2 separate regions of the Homo sapiens genome follow, and region 2 is linked to region 1. The links are contacts of gene promoters, found by promoter capture Hi-C in blood cells and fetal thymus (Javierre and others, 2016). All regions are on one chromosome and are shown on one strand. Each heading gives the region's core, a stretch centred on a gene start or on the middle of the fragment in contact. The rest is flanking DNA. Distances are from core to core; before and after follow the strand shown.

Region 1 (5,623 bases), core at 2,973-5,472:
TATACATAAATGGGCTTGCTAGCTTTTGGCCAAATGCTATAATGGCAAAGGGTTTGCCCTTCCTAGTGCTGGTGCTAAGAGGCCTCCATAACACCCTGGTATTTAAAGCTTACCAAAACAACTTTCTTAATTAAAGACCGAGTGAAAGCCCTGACTCTCCTCCCATCAGGTTATTACAAGTGGGTGTAGATGGAATTTTTAAAAAACTTAGCCTACCATTAACACTCTTCAAATTGCCTTCCCTCTAGGACCACGAAGGGAGGGGAAAAGAAGAGGAGAGTTATGGATTTGCGGATCCACGAATCCAGCAGGATTTAGCTTTCCATCAAACGGTAATTCAATATTTACCAAAGGATGTTTAGATGTGGAAATTTTTACTTTGGCTTGTATCTCATCAGAAAAAGTGTTTTTGGTTTTGTTTTTTGTTTTTTTTAACCTTAGGTTTACATATTGAAAAGATACTCAGCCTCAAACATGAAGACTATTCTAGATACACAGTCAACTCCTAATCACTGGACTGGAAATCACCCAGGCATACCTGAAGCTGTTTTGCAGCATTAGATACGCTATGGCCCAGGTATTCCACAGCAAACCTGGGCCCCATCGCTAGGTGATTAGCCATATACTTCTGTCTTCTCAGCTAAAGCATTTATTGCTTTTCATCAGCATAGACAATATAAAGCTGAAGATGTAGTCATCTCTTAATCACTTGAAAGCTGACTCTTCTGTCAGTAAATTCTACTTGGCACAGACTGCCCGTGACTCTGAATGACCGAATGGATTGGGATCAGCTTTTAATTTTATCAAGCAAGATTGATGCAAGCCTGTGATGAAACATTAATATCTGAGATGCCTTGCCACACACAAGCATGAGGTTGCTTACAGACCCTTTGTCTAAAAAATGTTTTCCTTCCCATCCCTGCCTGAATACACCAACATTTCGCATTAGAAACCATATTTTTCCTAAGTCAAAAGAGACAAGGGATTATAATTTTTTCTTTTCTTTTTTTTTATTTTTTTTTTTTTTGAGACGGAGTCTCGCTGTCGCCCAGGTTGGAGTGCAGTGGCGCGATCTCGGCTCACTGCAGGCTCCGCCCCCCGGGGTTCACGCCATTCTCCTGCCTCAGCCTTTTGAGTAGCTGGGACTACAGGTGCCCGCCACCTCGCCCGGCTAATTTTTTGTATTTTTAGTAGAGACGGGGTTTCACCGTGTTAGCCAGGATGGTCTCGATCTATAATTTTTTCTTAAAGACTGAACCATTACATTTAATTAAAAATATGTCTCCATGCAACCAACATTTCTTAGGCAGTGCAGTTCAAGAGGGGCAGGGGAGAGAGAAGAGAACCTTGGTTAAATCACAGTTCTGACAGTCCAGAGCTATGTATAAACTTCTGCAAAATCATACACTCCTGGGACTTGGTTTATCAACAACAATCATCTTCAAAGCACACCATATGTGCCAAACACTGATACGAATCATTTCATTTAATCCTTGGCATAACTTGAGACAAGGGCGGAGAAGAAAGGAGGAAAGGTGTGAAAATGAGGAAAGGTGAGAAAACCGAGAGACACCAACTATGATTTTTACTTTTCCTGGTTATGAAATAATCCATATCTAAGTAATTTCCTTAAAGAAGTGAAGGTCTCAAAGCTACAGAGACGTAGATGTGAGCATCACACAAGTAGGCTAATTCTAGATCACTGGATCTTAACCAGACTTCCTAAATCTTTAAGATGTAGGGCTGGACTAGGTCATCCAAGAGCCCTTCTGGGTTTAATATTCCAGGGACCTAATCATGCTGCAGGAGGATTAAAAGATGACAACTGCTTGAAAGACCAACCACCAGCAATGAAAGGAGTGGAGAGGAAAAGAAATCTGCAAAAAAGTGAACGGCCGCCATTAAGATAATAGCTTCAGGAATTGCTTTTGGTTGACGAAGGGCTCAAGAGATTTAGTGCTACTCAAGCATTTCCCATATTTATGGGACAGACTATGAACCATTCGATCTTAATTAAATCACTGAAAAATCATATCCGCAAAGGGGGAACACAACATAGGACTGGTTATTCTTGGTTTTGAAAAATTATGTTGCCACTTCCTATTGTTTTAAAAATGATCATTTAACTTCTTTGAACTACAGCCTGAATCCCCCACTGAAATATTTAAGCCTGTATTCGGTGACAGTCACCTATATTAAAGGCATTGAAGGAAGCTGGTGCCCCTAATTCAGGGTGCCCATTTAGAGTAGGGGAAGCAGGAAAATGCCACCAAGGACGAGCAGAATCGGGGCAGTTATCTGGCATCTGATTGCCAGGTAACTGTTTCTCACTTTGCTTTGCCCTTTAGCAGAGGACTTGGGGGGCTGCTACACAAGGATGGGGAAGGTCGTGCAGCCATTGCTGTTGACTGTGGACTGCTACTGATGACCTATTTGAGGATGAAGCCAGGGAGGTGGGAGCACTCTGAAGAAAAAAGTTTCTTTAGTCAGGTGGTTTGGTGGCTTAGAATTGGGACCTCAAATGAGACAAAAAGTCAAGTCAGGAATTGGGAAGCCAGACTCAAAATGCTGAGAGAGTCAAACATCAACCCGTTACTTTTCTCTCTGTCTTAAATATTGTAGACCAAATTACAGGGGGTAGGGGTTTGGGAGGGGGATGAGGAATGAGCAGGAGGCCGTAGAAGCTATCTGGTTCGTGTGCACTGCTTTATAAGGGAGGCAGCCAAGACGACCAGAGGCAAGTATCTTGCCCAGGGTCCCACAGGGCAAAATTAAAGTTCGAAAATTTTCTGATCTCCTGAAATGATGGGCTTGGAAATGTTTTTAACAGCAATTTAATCAAAATCCAAAATCTCTACATTTTTTAGAAGTATGCTGTCTACAGAATCTGAGAATCCAGAAGATGCCGGTTTTAACACCTGGTTGTTATTGTACCGCATTACAGGACCTACCCAAGCCCGGAATTCTGTTAGATGACAAACTGGACCCTAGAGTTAACATTCTAGTCTTTCCCCCGGTCTAAATACAAAACACAATATAGTTCTGTATCCAATCTGTTCAAAACTCCTAAACCAACTCTCAGTCTGAGATGGTCCTCGCGGGGTGATACCTGCCCCAAACACCCACACTCGGTGATTTCGAAAATACGTGCAGTAGCCTCGGCCACCTGCGGGTGGTACAAAGGGCGCCTTGAGGACCAGAGCTGGATGAAACGCCGGCTTACAAACCCCGCTCCGCCAGCACATTCAAGTCAAGGATCCAGCTCATTGTTTCCGAGGAGCGGAATGAATTGACCAGCCGAGCGCCGTTCTCCCAGTTAGAGCGTTCCCAAGCTTCCGGCTTCGGAACGGGGCTCACCGCGAGGACACAAAAGGGGCGAGCTCGGGCATCACTGCGGTTCCCCGCCGCCCGCCGAGGCCAGAACGCTCGCAGAGTCGCGGCCGCCCAGGTGTTACCGTTTACCCCGTGACGGAAGAGCCACAGGCTCTTGACTCCCCACCCCCTGAAAAGCGCATCTGCAGAACGGGGGCGCCCCCAAGCCCTGAGCGCCGCAGCAGCTCGGCCGCCGCCCCCACCGCGCGTCCCCGGGTCCTCGGGCTCCCGGCTTCGCTGCTGGGGAGCTGACCCAGCTGACTGGCTGTGGGGTCCCGTTCTGGGGCTGTCCTGCTGAGTCGGGGGTGGGGAAGCGGTGGCTACAACTCCCGGGTGCTCGCAGAAACTCCTCTGCGCGCTGATGTTGCAGCCGCTGGGGCGAGGGGCGGGAGCACCGGGAACTTGGGGGCGCGGAACCCCAAGCGGGGCGGCGGCGGGCAGCATCCCCGACCCGACTCCGACCCCCGAGACGCGGCGCCCCCCAGCGCCCTCCGTCCCCACCGCGCGGTGCCCCCGGCGCCCTCTGTCCCCACCGCTCGGCGCCCCCCAAGGCCCTCCGTCCCCACTGCGGAGGGGCGCGCAGGGGGCCGGCGGGGCCCGGGTACCACGCTCCGCCCGGCCCCACCTGCGGATGTGGGGCTCCCGCCGGAGGTCCCCGGGTCCCCCCTCCCATCCCTGGAAAAGTCCCCAGGGCGTCCGGGCCCGACCGGCGCTTACCCGGGGAGGGACGGCTTCGCATGCCCGGGCGGCGCTCGCAGGTCGGGCGGGGAGGGTGCGGGCTGCGCTGCGCCGGCTCGGGCTGCCGGAGCGCCCTGCAGCCGCCGTCGGGCTCGGGCTCGGGCTCAGGCTCGGGCTCCGACTTCCTCTTCCTCGGGCTCGGCCCCACTGCTCGGCCGCGCCCCGGCCCGCCCCTCCCCGCGCCCAGACGCCAGCTTCGGCGGCCGGAGCAGTGGATCGCTCGTCCCGCCTCCCCTCTGCCCTGAGGGTGAAAAAGGTGGAGAGGAGGGGGGCGAAGAGAAAGAGAAATTAGGCACTTGGCCTTGTCTCTGGAGCCTTGCCAAAGAGAACAGTCAAATTACAGCTTCGGGGGGAATAAAGTTTTTTTTTTTTTTAATTCTGCTACTGTTTTCGCAGACACATCACTTTTTTTCATTTTCCTAGCTCTTCAGGTTTAGCTTTCCTTTGGACGTAATAATTTCCTATGTGAGTCCTTTAAAATAATACCCAAAATCATGGTTTTAGTGAACATTCTAGTTTTACATAGAAGCTTTGCCGGTAATCAAGTGAAAAGAGGGGGAAGCCCGGTGTTCTTCAGGCGTCATTACCCTAATCACCTCGGTTAAAGCACCAAACGACCTTTGCCTAGAGAAAGTAAAAGTGGAAACGGAGGTAAAGAATAACCGGTGACAGCCAGAGAGATGTTTAAAGGCACCGGCTCTGCAGTAAAGTTATGACTCCAATCAAAGGTGCCTGCAGCGACAGTTAAAGGCATGTGAAGTCATTTCTTAACACTAATCTCCCGCCAAAGTCGGACGTATCAGGGTCGCCTGTGGACCCCCTTAGGTTTGGTGGTGGATTTGATTGCACTCTTAGTTGTTAACAGACCTTCAGCCTTACCACTTGCTAGCTGTGTGGCCTTGAGAGAACGCTTTAACCTCTCTGTGTTCTGTCTGTTTCCTCATCTGTAAAATGGAGATGATGATGATGATGATGATGATAGTGCCTACCTCATAGAGTTGCTGTATGTGATTTAAATAAGAGAATGTGCGTGAAGGGCTTAGGAGACTGTCTGGCACATGCTCTACAGCCTGAATAAATGTTAGCTATTCTTGTTGATTTTTGCCTTTTATCTGCTTTTATGCATATACATGATTATGGAAATTATCATAAAGACTGGGAACAAAACAAGGTTTGTGCAGTAAGGCTACACAGCATCACAGTTCTCTACCACGTGGAGTTTATGTTCTGTTTTATAATTTGAGTCTCCACAACTGACTTGTATTACCTAAAACTATGGGACTGGGTTATGCTTGGAATACATTTACCACGGTAGATTTGCAATGGGACTAAAACAGACATTTGCCATCTTCAAAGCATTGTTTCAGTTGGCCTTGCGATAACCTTGTGAGGTTGACAGGACAGGTGCTAGTCGCCTTTCACAGACAGGAAACTGAGCTTAATTAAGACCCTGCCCAGCTTCTGGAGCTCACACAAAATCATGCCTGTTACCCCATCTCTCTATGTTGTGATT
Region 2 (5,513 bases), core at 2,762-5,261, 49 kb before region 1:
TTGTTTTACCAGTTAGCAAAACACTGATGAACTCTGACACAAGCAAAGTAATCTTGACTCTACTAAAATACTGTTTGTCTTTGTAATAACTTTGAGTACTTCAAGAATAGTTCAGTGTTTTAAATATTTATGTCTCCAATAAAGCATTATTATTTTGTGAGTTAAAGGCAAGGCTCTAACCCATTGTTGCACTTAAGCTTTTAATTGTTTTAGATTATTGCTTGGTTAAAAAAAAGACCTGGTATAAAATTGAAAGTATAAACCTTTTTCCTTTTTTCTTTTTTTTTTTTTTTGAGACACAGTTTTGCTCTTGTTGCCCAGGCTGGAGTGCAATGGTGCGATCTCGGCTCACTGCAACCTCTGCCTCCCGGGTTCAAGGGATTCTCCTGCCTCAGCCTCCCAAGTAGCGGGGATTACAGGCATGAGCCACCACGCCCAGCTAATTTTGTATTTTTAATAGCGACGGGGTTTCACTATGTTGGCCAGGCTGGTCTCAAACTCCTGACCTCGTGATCCACCCCCCTCGGCCTCCCAAAGTGCTGGGATTACAGGCATGAGTCACTGCACCCAGACGAAAATATAAACTTTTTTATCAGTAAAAAGTGATACCACTATGCTTACCAGACTAAATTTCTTCATCTATTCCTAACACTCTAATAAGCATTTGACGTATAAGCATAAGCGTGGAAATAGTTTACCATTGCAGGCCTTGACAAATAGTTCATAATGTGGTCAGAGCCTGATGAGTTAAAGTACTTAGGAAAGAAACAGAGTAAAATAATTGCCTGGACCTAACAGAAAGGCATATCTCCTCTTCCTTCTTTCCCTTTTAGTGTCATTGTGGTTTTTCAAGAACCAACACCACCAAGTTAAAATGAGATTTTCAATCTTAAAGAAAAATACGTTAAAAATACCACAGAACTTTTCTAGCCAATGAAAAGGATTTAAAATATTACCTAAAGACTAATTCAATAAAACCAGAAAGCCAATGGGAAGAAATGACTCTGAAATGGGTCATGTGCGATTACACTTGATTCCATTTTGAGTCTTTATGTATGTTAATCTGCAGTACGCATTTTCTTTAATTTTTATCCTTTGGTAACAATATTTGTCATTATTCTATACAAAATAGTTAAAGACTTTTTTTTTTCTTTTGAGAGAGAGTCTTACTCTATCCCCTAGGCTGGAGTGCAGTGGTACAATCTCCGCTCACTGCAACGTCTGCCGCCCTGCTTCAAGTGATTCTCCTGCCTCAGCCTCCCGAGTAGTTGGGATTACAGGCACGTGCCACCATGCCCAGCTAATTTTTATATTTTTAGTAGAGATGGAGTTTCACCGTGTCGGCCAGGCTGGTCTCGAACTCCTCATCGCAAGTGATCTGCCCACCTTGGCCTCCCAAAGTGCTGGGATTAGGGGCGTGAGCCACTGTACCTGGTCTAAAGACTGAGAATAGTTTTTTCTGTTTTAAAAAAGACTACAGGGCTGGGCATGGTGGCTCTCACCTGTAATCCCAGTACTTTAGGTGGCCGAGGTGGATGGCTCACTTGAGGTCAGGAGTTCATGACCAGCCTGGCCAACGTGGTGAAACCCCATCTCTACTAAAAATACAAAAATTAGCCAGTCATGGTGGTGCGTGCCTGTTATCCCAACTACTCCGGAGGCTGAGGCAGGAGAATCACTTCAAATCGGGAGGAGGTTGCAGTGAGCTCAGATCGCACCACTGCACTCCAGCCTGGGTGACAAAGCGAGACCCTGTCTCAAAAAAAGAAAAAACTGACTACAGTAGCTCCTCTAATAGGTGATTTCACTTTCTGCAGTTTCAGTTACCTGCAGTCAACTGTGGTCTGAAAATATTACAGTATTTTGAGAGACAGAGAAACTATATTCACATAACTTTTATGACGGTGTGTTGTTATAATTGTTCTATTTTATTATTCGTTGTTGCTAATCTTTTACTGTGCCTAATGTAGACATGAAAACTTATTATAGATATGCATGTATAGGAAAAACAATTCACATAGAGTCAGTACTATCCATGGTTTCAGGCATCCACGGGGCGCTTGGAACATATTCCCCACAGATAAGGGGGACTGCTATACTTGAAAATCGAAAAATGTGACTTACAGAGTACACTTATACAAAAATACTAACAAACTGAAATTATGAATACGTTCAGCTTTTAACATATGTTTCATACTCAAGGGGCAAAAAAATGAAAAGAGCTCACTTTTATAGTTGAAACCTTTTCAATGTCTTCACCCACAGACTCTTCTCATCAGTCTTCACCTGTAGTAAAAACAAAAAATAAATTGCTTTTTACTTAAATATTGCTTTCTCAGAATTCTTTTAGTGGAACATGGATGAGCTATCAGGGCTAATTTTAAGTTGTTTAAAAGGAAGACTAGATGCCAAAAGGCCAGGATATTCCCAGGAAAAGGCCATATCATGCTACTGGACTGTAATAGGCCTATAGCAGTAATCATAAACATTTAATTAAAAAATGAAAAAATTCACAGGATGTGGTATTAGAAAGTTACTGAAGTCCTATCATCCTTGATTTTCCCTTTCCCTTGAAATAATACTCAGATAATTCAAAAGGAGACTTGAACATACAATAGCTCTGTAAACAGAGGAGTTCAGTGACTTGCCAGAAACCAGGAAGAATTTCCCCCAACAAAGGAGAGAGAAAACGCGAGGCCATGAAGCAGGGAATGGAAGGAGAGGCTCTGATTTCAATCCTTCTCCACCGCAGCATCCCTAGCTCCAAAACACAAGTCCTCCAACAATTGCCTAAGGCCACAGCCACTCTTCTCTGAGTTCTTCTCACTTTCCATCAGTGCAAGAGAGTTGAGGGGTCGAGCTCATTGGGGTGAGGCTTACATCTGGTGAAATTTGGGGCTGCAGTTTTTCTGGTCACTGTTTTGGTTTTTTTTTTCTTTCTTTTTTTTTTTTTTTGAGACAAAGTTTTGCTCTCGTCTTTATTTTTATTTATTTATTTTTTTGAGACGGAGTCCCGCTCTGTCGCCCAGGCTGGAGTGCAGTGGCGCCATCTCGGCTTACTGCAAGCTCCGCCTCCCAGGCTCACGCCATTCTGCTGCCTCAGCCTCCCCAGCAGCTGGGACTACAGGCACACGCCGCCACGCCCGGCTAATTTTTTTGTATTTTTAGTAGAGACAGGGTTTCACTGTGTTAGCCAGGATGGTCTCGATCTCCTGACCTTGTGATCCGCCCGCCTCGGCCTCCCAAAGTGCTGGGATTACAGCCATGAGCCACCGCGCCTGGCCATTTTTTGTATTTTTAGTAGCGACAGGGTTTCACCATGTTGGCCAGGCTGGTCTCGAACTCCTGACCTTAGGTGATCTGCCCGCCTCGGCCTCCCAAAGTGCTGGGATTACAGGCATAAGCCACCGCGTCCAGCCTGGTCACTGTTTTTAAAAAGAAAGAACCGCAGACATTTCAACATTTGCAGAGTTTTAAAATTAAAAAAAAGTGCCTAGAAATTTCTCAGCTGGGTATCTTCATGAAGAAAAGTTACTCGAATATATTCCAGTTGATTGAGGGATGAATCAAAAGAAAAACTTCAGAGTGAAAAGGTAGATACACAATAGCACTGGTGGGGAACATTAAAGGCAGGCACAGAATGTGCTAATTATTATTATTATAAAAATAGCCCAACTAGAGTGCCGGATTCCAAAATTTTTGAAAAACAAAAAAACTTAATAAAAAGCTTTACTATAATTAGCTCCACCTAGGTCTGAAATCCTAGCTCATATGATCAAAAATGGGGAAATGAGTGGGGATAATGAAAATTAGCTAATTTTATTCTGCATAGGAGGAGTAAAAACAATGCAGTTTCATTTGTAACACGAGTACTTTTTCATTGAAGAGAATAAAGAAATTAAATGTTTAAGCTCAGTTAAGTCTGAAATAAATATGATATAGGCAAGACAAATTAAAAAAAAAGCAGGATTCTGTGATTTAAATATTTAAAAACAAGTAGGTGGTTCATTGCAGAATGAAATACTTCATGGGCAGATTTCTGACAAATTTGGTCTTAACATCCAACCAAAAACTAGAATTATTAGAGGACTATATCACAGAAACAGAAAAGATGAAAAAAATCATGAATACTATATAAAAATATCCTTGTGAATAAATTCAAACATTTCATTGGAAACAGTTTTATAAGGTGATATTTAATTATCAACACTGAACCAAAAATATAAAGGCTAAACAACTAATACATACAGTTTACCTCAAGGATTAGATAATTCCCAAACTATATGAAAAGCTTTCAAGATAGAGGGAAAATGAGGCTCCCCAATTTGATAAAGCCAGCACAAATCTGATAAGGTACAAAGAGAGAAAAGGAAGAGGCATGTTTGACTTAGATAAGATGTAAGAACCCTCAATAAAGTGCTCAGAAAACTCAATTTCTAGTATACAACACATCTCCATAAATAAGGTTTATTCTATAAATATTATATAAATAGATCCATTATGCCCTATCAATAGGTCACAAAAGATCAACACTTATTCTTATCTTCAAAGATGACAAAATGGCATGGGGTAAACTCAGCACCTACATATGGTCATCTCTCAGTGTATGGAGAAATAGGATAGTTTGCCATGATTTTTAAGAAGACCTGAAATCAATAGACATTTTTATTAAAAGTCAGGAATGAAAGTCTCACTGTGCAACAGTGAAAGAAAATAAACAGCCAAATTATCCCCATCAGCAGGTGACGAGGTTGAATACCTAGAAAGATACCATAAAAGAAATATCTTTTTAAAACCTATTAGAAATAGTAAAGGTTAAGATCATTTAAAACAAATTATTTAAAAAGCACTGGTTTTTATCCAGTGGCAGAAATGATGAGTCACAAACAAATTAAAATGAAGACAGTCTGAAAATAGATCATATTCAGAAAAATAATGCTTAAAGAATCTATATAGAAGACATTTAAAGAAATCTTTAGACAATGATTCCCTCATGAGAAATGATGAAAAATGCAAATGTACTTTTTTAAAAAAAGAAAAAAGCATCATCTAGTCAGGAAATTCAATATGAGGTAAACCAATGAGTTTATAATTTCAGTTATTATAGGAATATGAGAACAGCAAGAGGGCTTTTACAATCAGCAATGTTTATTTATAGGTGAATACTTGAGAACCTCAGAGGCTGTTCTATAAATTCAAAATAGGATTTTTTAAAAAATTAAGAATATTTGATTGTCTGGCCTTAAGTACAACATCCACTAATATATTATACTCAGGACATAAAATCCAATTAGAATTTTACGTCAAAACAAAACTTCATTACACTTCTGAAGGTTGGGGAAGTGTTAAAAATAGCCATCAGTGTTATATTTGTGAAAAGAAAATGCTGACTGCACTTCACTGAATCACGGTGAAACAGGTCATATTTTATTGCTTTTGGCCAAAGAACAATGCTAAACTTATAGTCTACACTATAAGCAAGGTGATGTTTAAAATAAGTTACATAGGCAAAA

The links. The method cuts DNA at HindIII sites, captures the fragments that hold promoters and counts their contacts. A CHiCAGO score of 5 or more calls a contact.
Region 2: a fragment that was not itself captured here is called in contact with the fragment with the promoter of PLEKHG1 in region 1 in 2 of 17 cell types (total B cells and naive B cells); the score reaches 6.1 in total B cells.

Annotation. Positions count from the first base shown.
Region 1 is chr6:150,598,484-150,604,106 of GRCh38, reverse strand. PLEKHG1 (pleckstrin homology and RhoGEF domain containing G1) reads right to left here and starts at 4,222. Exons shown (of 17, transcript NM_001029884.3): 1 at 4,090-4,222. RefSeq lists silencers at 3,545-3,714, 3,925-4,404, 4,200-4,494, 4,675-4,734. The HindIII fragment of the contact is 1,307 bases long and covers 3,335-4,641 here.
Region 2 is chr6:150,647,501-150,653,013 of GRCh38, reverse strand. It overlaps PLEKHG1 (pleckstrin homology and RhoGEF domain containing G1), which reads right to left. Exons shown (of 17, transcript NM_001029884.3): 2 at 2,228-2,286. Among named protein-coding and RNA genes, the nearest start is that of PLEKHG1, 50 kb to the right of the region's middle. The HindIII fragment of the contact is 564 bases long and covers 3,730-4,293 here.